Regions from separate parts of the Homo sapiens genome. Here region 2 is linked to region 1. Evidence: promoter capture Hi-C in 16 types of primary human blood cells and fetal thymus (Javierre and others, 2016). All regions are on one chromosome and are shown on one strand. The core of a region is centred on a gene start or on the middle of the fragment in contact, and the rest is flanking DNA. Distances in the headings are between cores, read along the strand shown. Region 1 holds the start of TNFRSF18 (TNF receptor superfamily member 18). Region 2 holds the start of NOC2L (NOC2 like nucleolar associated transcriptional repressor).

Region 1 (4,725 bases), core at 946-3,445:
CGCCCATACCCATCGCTTCCTGTCTCCTCCCCTCTGGGCACAGCACCCCCCAGGCCCCGTGGGACTTATTCCCCAGCAGGACCCCTTGCCGCACCCCCAGATGGACACGGGGCCACCTCCTCTTGGTCTCCATGCTCACCCTCCCCGCCCCCTCGCCTGACGCCATCTCTGCTGGCAACTCCTGTGCCATCTGTGCCGAAGGCCCTGCCTGAACTCTGGCTCAGTGCCCATCTGCACCCTCCCCGTGGGGCCTCACAGCTGCCCTTCTGGACGTACGCAAGGGCTGTCCCTCGCCCGGCCCGTGGGCTGCTCTGCTGTGTGAATGCCCCGTCATTTGTGTCACCGGTGAGCTGCTCAATAAGATGAACAAGTCACCTCCAGCCTCGCAGCCCAAGGATAGGAGTCACGGGGAGCCGGGGAGGGGCCTTCTGCGGCGAGAGGGATGGGAGGGTGGACGTCACACCCCTGCAGCCCCTCCGGGGACCACCCTGTGTGGCAAGCTGCTCTCCGGCTGTTCAAAGTGTCAGCTGCGCCACGGGGCGGGGGGGAGGGGCTCCTCTGCCCGCTGGCCGCCTCCCACTTGGCCCCATAAACTGCTCGCTCCTCTAACTCTGTCCCTGCCTCTAGATGGATGACTCACACCGTGTGGTCTGATGAGCATTCTTTATTTTTTGTGATGGAGTCTCGCTCTGTCACCCAGGCTGGAGTGCAATGGTGCCATCTTGGTTCGCCGCAACCTCTGCCTCCCAGGTTCAAGCAATTCTCCTGCCTCAGCCTCCCGAGTAGCTGGGATTACAGGCGTGCGCCACCACGCCTGGCTAATTTTTTTTGTATTTTTAGTAGAGACGGGCTTTCTCCATGTGGGTCAGGCTGGTCTCGAACCCCTGACCTCAGGTGATCCGAGGCCCACCTCGGCCTCCCAAAATGCTGGGATTACGGGCGTGAGCCACTGATGGCGCCTCTTTCTATCCAGGGGCCCAGACCCCCTCCCAGCCTCGGGGCTGAAGATCTCCAGGCCTCTCAAAGGCCCCCAGGCCCAGCTGGCCCCACCCCTTTCCTTCCGAGCGTCGGGGCGGCCTGGAGCTGCAGAGACCCCTTCCTTCTCTGCAGTGTCTGAGGGCTGCCTCTCCAAGGCAGGCTCCTACATCTTGGATTTGAGAACTCCGGGGTGTCACAAACAGCTAATTCCTGTCATTTACCTTGGAAAAGGAGGAACCGCCTTACGGGGTGAGGCGGTGGCTGCAGGTCTCAAAAGGGTGTTGAACCACATCCACGCTCACGTTCCCGAGAGCCCCCACCCCCAGCATTCATGGGGGTCTCCACCTGTGCTGGACGGCGCAGAAGCAGGGCTGGGCAATCCAGGGAGGCTTCCTGGTGGAGGCAGGGTCCCAGAACCCCTCGGTGCCCACAGGGGAAACTGAGGCTCAGAAAGACATAGGACAGTCTCCCAAGAGCTCTGCGAGGGGCTCCTCCTCAACTCCCTCCGGGACCTGGATCTGTCTGGTGTGACGGATGAAGGTGGCTCTGAGAGACCGGGCCCTGGGTGCCCGCGGGGGCGGCTGACACTGTCCCGAGGAGGCGCCAGCACCCTCTCGTCTCCCCACCAGCTCCTCCTGGTGCCCCTCCCAAGCCCCGGGGAACTTCCCAGGTTGGCCTGAGGGGGGTCCTGGAGAGCTGCAAGCAAGGGGGAGGGGAGCCCACAGGCCTGCAGCCCATGGTGAGTTTCACACCTGAAGCCAGCCAGGTGGGGTGTGCTGAGCCGAGGGGTCCCTGTCCCCATTCTGTGGGGTTCCCCAGCACGGGGCTCCATGGTTGAGGCTCTCTGGGGGTGGCCAGAATTTGTGGAGACCTCTCGGGGACTCGCAGATACCACCCGGAGGCAGTGGGATGGAGGAGTGATTGGCTGACCCCCGCCCTCCAAGGGGCCCCCATGGGACAAGGTGCTATAAACGCCGCCCCCTGCACTGGGGACACCAATGTGGCCGCAGACTTTGCATAGAAAACCTTTCTGATCCCCGCCAGCCTGGTTTCCCCGCCCCTGCCGGCGACCTGCGGGGGACCGGGCTGTGTCCGCAGTGTCTACACCCCCTCCTCACACGCACTTCACCTGGGTCGGGATTCTCAGGTCATGAACGGTCCCAGCCACCTCCGGGCAGGGCGGGTGAGGACGGGGACGGGGCGTGTCCAACTGGCTGTGGGCTCTTGAAACCCGAGCATGGCACAGCACGGGGCGATGGGCGCGTTTCGGGCCCTGTGCGGCCTGGCGCTGCTGTGCGCGCTCAGCCTGGGTCAGCGCCCCACCGGGGGTCCCGGGTGCGGCCCTGGGCGCCTCCTGCTTGGGACGGGAACGGACGCGCGCTGCTGCCGGGTTCACACGACGCGCTGCTGCCGCGATTACCCGGGTAAGTAAACCGCGTTTACTTAACGCGGACCGGCCAAGGCGTCCCGCGGAAGCCGGGATGGGTGGGCGCCCCCCTTCCCGTGCTCAGACCGGCGTTGCTGAGGTCTAAGGAGGGTGGGCACAGAGCCGCCAGCAGCGGGAGCCTTCCGGAGGGAGGCAGGATCCCAGAGGGAGGCGGAGGTGTGCCAGCTCCAGCCAGTGGCCCCGGCCGGGAGCAGGGGTGAGCCAGGTGGGAGCGCCCTCAAGAGGGGTCTGGGGTCTGGAGGTGGAGGACGGCTGTTCCAGGTCCTGCTGGGCGGGTCGTGAGCCCTTGGCCATCGCCCAGCCCCCTCCTGCCCAGTTGAGGGCCCCCCTGCACCACCGTCTGGCCTGCTGCCTGCCTCTGACCTGCACCTGGGGATGAGGGTTCAGCTGACACGGCTGGTCTGGAGAGGAAGCTGGCAGGGAAGTCACCCCAGAGCTTCTTCCTCCAGGGCCTGTGGGTTGGGAAGGGAGGCTCTGTCCGGAGGCCCAGTGTGGCTGGTGGTGGGGACAGCAGCGCCCAGACACCAGGCAGGCGGCCTCTGAGGTGTCGACGGGCCTCCAGGGGACTGTGCACTGTTGGGGGCCACCCCTGGGTCCTGCAGGGGCAGCTCCTGGTTGCATATGGAGTTAGCACCTGGGCAGGGGCAGCTGTGGGGCGCAAAGGGGGAGTAGCCAGGCCACATGGCCCCAGGAGAAAGAGACAGCTGGATAAACCCAGGGTCCAGACTCCCAGCCAGGAGCCCTCTGCTCCCTGGAGCCAACTGTGGGTGGAGAACGGACAACCTCACTCCCCTGGAGGGCCGAGGGGAGGCCTGGGGAGGAGGGGGCCTCAGCCCAGCTGCTGGGGGGCTGGCCTGTCTCCTGCCCAGGCGAGGAGTGCTGTTCCGAGTGGGACTGCATGTGTGTCCAGCCTGAATTCCACTGCGGAGACCCTTGCTGCACGACCTGCCGGCACCACCCTTGTCCCCCAGGCCAGGGGGTACAGTCCCAGGGTAAGTCCTGGAGGTGCCTCTGGGAGTCCACACAGGCCAGGGGTTCCACTAGGGCCCGAGGCAGAGCTCGTGGGCACAGGTGTCCGGCGAGGACATGTGGTGTGTGGGGTCCGGAGTCCTGTGAGGCCGGGCAGGCCAGGCCATGCTCAGGCACCACAGGCCATGAAGCTCTGGGGGTGTCCTGTCCCTGCTTTCTCAGCCTGGGCTTCTCCATCCAGCACGAGGGCTGTGAGAACCCTGCGGGGAGGTGGGGGCGGGTTCCAGGAGCTGTCTGGCTCTCAGGCCCGGGACACCCATCCTGTCTGTCCTCACCACATACTGAAAGAGCCTGCCCTGTGCCCCCCGGAGTCCTGTCTGGGGCCTGGGGCTGCACCCTGTTCTGGAAGGAGCAGCTCAAGTCCTCTTAGCGGCTTGTTTACCTGACAGGAGAGGTCAGGCTGGGCACATGAGAGCTGGGAGAAGGTACAACTGGGGAGGTTGTGTCAGGTTGGACGGGGCAGGGTCTGGGGTCAACTGGGACCCAGCCTCACTCTCTCTGGGACCCTCACTGTTCTCCACCCTCTGTTCTACTGGGTCCTGCCTGGCTTCTGCCCACCCTCAGCCCCCAATGGGCAGGCCTTTCCCCTCCCTGGCAGGCCCACTGCACTCTGCGCACCTCCCCCAGGTGCCCTCACTGGGCCCCACCCCAGACGCCCCACCTGGGACGGGCAGACATGGGCCCCAGTCCTGGGCCATGAAGAACTCTGTTGAATGGATGATGGGGGGGGCATTCTACTCAGCACCCAGACCCCAGATGGACCCCTGCACTGGCCTGACGCCCTCCTCATCCATCCCAGCAACTCCACCAGCCTCCCTCCCTCCCTCCCCCCACACCCCACACCAGGGAAATTCAGTTTTGGCTTCCAGTGTATCGACTGTGCCTCGGGGACCTTCTCCGGGGGCCACGAAGGCCACTGCAAACCTTGGACAGAGTGAGTCCTGGGTGGGCCCTGCCGGTGGCCGGGTGGTCCAGGCCCACTCTGAGGAAGGGTCCTCTCCTGTCCCTTGCCCCAGACAGCACGGAGGGCAGCAGCCGGGGGCTGATCGGAGGCCGTGTCCGGGGGCTGATAGGAGGCCGCGTCCATGTATTCCAGCTGCACCCAGTTCGGGTTTCTCACTGTGTTCCCTGGGAACAAGACCCACAACGCTGTGTGCGTCCCAGGGTCCCCGCCGGCAGAGCCGCTTGGGTGGCTGACCGTCGTCCTCCTGGCCGTGGCCGCCTGCGTCCTCCTCCTGACCTCGGCCCAGCTTGGACTGCACATCTGGCAG
Region 2 (4,352 bases), core at 598-3,097, 250 kb after region 1:
CTCCCCTGGGGCGTAGTCAGAGCCGCGAACAGAGCCCCGCGTCCGGCCCCGCTTCCCGGCGCCCCCACGAGCTCAGCTCCTCCGCGTCCCTAGCCGCCCTCTCGGGACCGCAGCGGGAGTCGCGTCCTGGGCGCGCGGGGCGCGGGTGGGGAACCTACTCCGGGCCGACCCCGCTCCGCACCTGAGTCCCGACCTCCCCCGGCCCTCGGAAGCGGCCCCCGCCCCTTCTGCGAGCGGACGCGAGGGCGGGGGCCGCGCAGGTCCCGAGGCCGCCCCCCGCGCCCCGACCCCCGCCCACTCACGCCGGCGGCTGCGGCGGTGGAGGCGGCGGCGCCTCGGGCCCGGGCCCCGGGCTGCCGTGCTCCGGGCTCTGCGTCCTGCCGGCCGGGCGCTCGCTGCGGGGCTGCATTCGGCTGCCGGACCCACCGCCGATTCGCGGAGGACCCGCGGGCTTAACGGACGCGGAGACTGCCGGAGGGCTGCTCGGCGGTGGCGGCCCGCTCTGTGTCGCTCACTCCCGCCGCTCCCGCCCGCAGCCGCTGTTTCTCGGCGCCGCCCGCCCCGCCTCCCGAGAGGCTTCGGGGACTAGACGTTGGACGCGGATTCTTCCAGCGCTGCGCCCCGGGTCCGCCTCCTCCTCCGAGAAGCACCCCCAGACCCCGCCATCCTCCTCCTCCGGGAAGCCCCCCACCAGGCCTCGCCCTCCTCCTCCTCCGAGAAGCCCCCCTAGGCCTCGCCATCTTCCTTCTCCGAGAAGCCCCCCAGGCCCCGCCATCCTCCTCCTCTGGGAAGCCCCCGGCCTAGCCCTCCTCCTCCTCCTCCTCCGGGAAGCCCCCCTAGGTCTCGCCTTCCTTCTTCCCCGGGAAGCCCCCCACAGGCCTCGCCCTCCTGTTTCTCCGAAGAGCCCTCCTAAGCCTCGCCCTCCTCCTCCTCCAAGGAGCCCCCCTAAGCCTCGCCCTCTTCCTCCTCCGAGGAGCCCCCCAGGCCTCGCCCTCCTCCTCCCCCGGAAGCCATCCCCGCTCCCCCGACCCCCTAACTTGCTCTCCTCCGGGGAGCCCCGGGGCCCCGCGGCACCAAGAAGTCGAATGGGACCCCGAGGCCAATCCGCCCGTGTTCGCCTCACGCGCCCCCTCAGCGCCAGGGCTGGGGGAGCCGTGCCTGCGCCCCGCGGCGCCCTTGTCGCGGGGTCTGGCTGTCCAGGCCCGGGGGCCCGGGTGTCAGGCTGGTAGCGGGAAGGAAGGCGCCGGCCTCCCCACCGTCTTCGTCCCGTGCGGCGTCCCCGGGAAGAGCCGCGGTCGGCACCCAGAGGGCCATGGACGGGGAGCGCCCTGCGTGGTGTTCGTGGCGCTGGCCCGGTCTCCGCGGATCGGAGGCGAAGCCAGCCTGGCCCTCGGGTCGCCCGTCTTTTGTCGAGCTGGCGACATCAGTGCGGTTCCCACTGCCCCTCGCGTTTTCCACTGGACTCCCTGCTTTTTATTGTTGATTTGTGGGAGCTCTTTGCATAGGAGCCCCGCCGTTGCAGTCTGGCGTCCTCGCAGGCGCGTGCCTTCGGAGCGCCGGGTGGGCTGCGGGCGCGGCGGGACTCCCGGTCTTCCCCGGGGCGGACACCGGCGTCACCGCGTCCTACGGAGCCGGGCGCCGAGCGGGAGGCGCATCTGGGCCCCACCGGGGCTGCCCGCACCGAGCACGCGAACGCGCCCTCCCGCCCTGAGGCCGCCGGCGTTGCGGTCGGAGAACCATAGAGCCACTCGGCTGGGCGTGGCGCGGCGGGGCGGGGAAAGGGGCGGGGCCTGGGCGGCGGAAGTGCGCAGCCGCGCGGCATTCTGGGGCCGGAAGTGGGGTGCACGCTTCGGGTTGGTGTCATGGCAGCTGCGGGGAGCCGCAAGAGGTAAGCCGCGGGTCCGAGGGCCGATTTGGCCTCCCGGTGGGTGTCTGTATCCAAGGGGGCTTTTCTTGCTCCTCTCAGCGGGGCTGGGGCGAGCTGGGCGTGCGGGCAGCTGTGACTCCTGCGTGACCCGCAGGCGCCTGGCGGAGCTGACGGTGGACGAGTTCCTAGCTTCGGGCTTTGACTCCGAGTCCGAATCCGAGTCCGAAAATTCTCCACAAGCGGAGACACGGGAAGCACGCGAGGCTGCCCGGAGTCCGGATAAGCCGGGCGGGAGCCCCTCGGCCAGGTTAGTGGGGACATGCGTGAGCAGAACCTCTTGCTCGTCCTGTCCCACCCCGGTTGGGTTGCTGACCTCGCCTGGGGTCTCAGGGCCAAGGCCTAAGGATCGCCGACCTCTGCCCCCCAGTCCTTTCAGCTTAACTTACTCTTTCATCCGATGTTTACTGAGCTCCTGTTCCGTGCCAAACTCTGTCCTAGGCAGGGAGCGTATGTTGGTGAGTTGTGCAAAAATCTCTTCCCGATCTAGGAGAACTCTCACGTTCTTGGGTGAAATCACCGCCTGCAGTTCGGTAGAAGAGAGATAAGTGCTGGGGAGGGAAAGGAAGGACAGAGGGGCTGAAGAGAGAGTTGCAGGGGAGCCGAGTTGCTCTGTTAGAAGGAGCGGAGGCTGTGCTCGGTGGCTCACGCCTGTAATGCCAGCACTTTGGGAGGCCGAGGCGGGCAGATTACCTGAGGTCAGGAATTCGAGACCAGCCTGACCAACACGGAAAAATCATGTCTCTACTAAAAATATAAAAATTAGCCGGGCGTGGTGGGCACCTGTAATCCCAACTACTCGGGAGGCTGAGGCAGGAGAATCGCTTGAACTTGGGAGGCGGAGGTTGCAGTGAGCCGAGATGGCACCATTGCATTCCAGCCTGGGTGAGAGAGTGAGACTCCATCTCAAAAAGAAAAAGAAAGAAATCAAAAGATACAAAAATTAGCCTGGCGTGGTGACACACACCTGTCGTCCCAGCTACTCGGGAGGCTGAGGCAGGAGAATCGCTTGAACCCGGGAGGCGGAGGTTGCGGTGAGTGGAGATTGCGCCACTGCACTCCAGCCTGGGCGACAGAGTGAGATTCCGCCTCAGGAGAAAAAAAAAAAAAAAAAAAAGCGGAGGTGGTTGTTTGAGAAGATGACGTCTGAATAAAGACCTCGAACAAGGAGGCCACACAGACAGTAGGGGAAACGTGTCTTAGGATTTCAGGCAGCAGAAAACAGCAAAAGCCTTGCAGTGGGAGCATTTGGGGAGAGTACAGAGGTAAACGTGGCTACGGCAGGAGTGAGGGGGTGAATAGGGGTAGATGAGCCCAGAAGGGTGATGAAGAGCCAGGTGCCGTAGACCGTCATAAGATTGCCTCGTAAAACAGGGAGTTACTTCTGGGTTTGAGCGGTGGAGTGCCTTGTAGGTGACAAGGGTGGAAACAGAGAGACCTTTAGGTTAACTGAGAATTGAACTATGTGGTGGTTTGAGAGGAGGCACGAACGGTTTTGAAGGTGTTGCTGATGAGATCTGATGACAAGTTGCGTGCTGGGTATTAGAGACAGAGATTTGCCTTTAGTCTGAGCCTCTGGAAGGGTGAAGCCACCATCAGGCAAAAGTAGCGCAGGGCACAGGCACAGCAAGTCCAGGGAAGACCGCGGCTGGGGGCCTGTGTAGCGCAGGGCGCAGGCACAGCAAGTCCAGGGAAGACCGCGGCTGGGGGGCCTGTGTAGTGTGTTTGAGGGTATGTTGTAGAGGTTGTTGGGTAGGAGACGTGAGTCTGCCAAAAACGTACCTCCTGGCAATCCTGTCTTGCTAGTTGGTAACCCTTGTGAAGGGAGTAGACTGACCCTGTAGGCCACTCCCCGCCCCCTCTACTTCCACTTCCCACTGGGGTCGCTGACTTCTGCCTCCTCAGCCGGCGTAAAGGCCGTGCCTCTGAGCACAAAGACCAGCTCTCTCGGCTGAAGGACAGAGACCCCGAGTTCTACAAGTTCCTGCAGGAGAATGACCAGAGCCTGCTAAACTTCAGCGACTCGGACAGCTCTGAGGAGGAAGAGGGGCCGTTCCACTCCCTGCCAGATGTGCTGGAGGTGAGGGCGTGGGCCAAACCAGAAGGGGGGCACTTGTCTCTACACTCTCCTTCAGCTCAGCCTTTCTGTGCAGGAAGCCAGTGAGGAGGAGGATGGAGCGGAGGAAGGAGAAGATGGGGACAGAGTCCCCAGAGGGCTGAAGGGGAAGAAGAATTCTGTTCCTGTGACCGTCGCCATGGTTGAGAGATGGAAGCAGGCAGCAAAGGTGAGCAGCAGCCAGGGGCGGGCAGCTGGGTGCCCAGGCAGAAATCTGGCCTTGCCTCACCTGAGGTGAGCAGCAGCGAGGGGCGGGCAGCTGGGTGCCCAGGCAGAGATCTGGCCTTGCCTCACCTGAGGCGCCTGAGGCTG

What was found. Contacts are between HindIII fragments. The CHiCAGO score rates a contact against its expected background, and 5 or more counts as called.
Region 2: the fragment with the promoter of NOC2L here is called in contact with the fragment with the promoter of TNFRSF18 in region 1 in 2 of 17 cell types (erythroblasts and M0 macrophages); the score reaches 6.7 in erythroblasts.

What each region holds. Positions count from the first base shown.
Region 1 is chr1:1,204,062-1,208,786 of GRCh38, reverse strand. TNFRSF18 (TNF receptor superfamily member 18) reads left to right here and starts at 2,195. Exons shown (of 5, transcript NM_004195.3): 1 at 2,195-2,402; 2 at 3,295-3,417; 3 at 4,301-4,388; 4 at 4,551-4,725. The coding sequence starts at 2,216. RefSeq lists silencers at 450-539, 3,412-3,612 and an enhancer at 1-615. The HindIII fragment of the contact is 24,444 bases long and covers 1-4,725 here.
Region 2 is chr1:956,751-961,102 of GRCh38, reverse strand. NOC2L (NOC2 like nucleolar associated transcriptional repressor) reads left to right here and starts at 1,847. Exons shown (of 19, transcript NM_015658.4): 1 at 1,847-1,888; 2 at 2,022-2,174; 3 at 3,830-4,004; 4 at 4,078-4,209. The coding sequence starts at 1,863. KLHL17 (kelch like family member 17) reads right to left here and starts at 519. Exons shown (of 12, transcript NM_198317.3): 1 at 303-519. The coding sequence starts at 409. RefSeq lists silencers at 1-295, 316-625, 1,584-1,843 and enhancers at 1,954-2,063, 1,722-2,579. The HindIII fragment of the contact is 14,217 bases long and covers 1-4,352 here.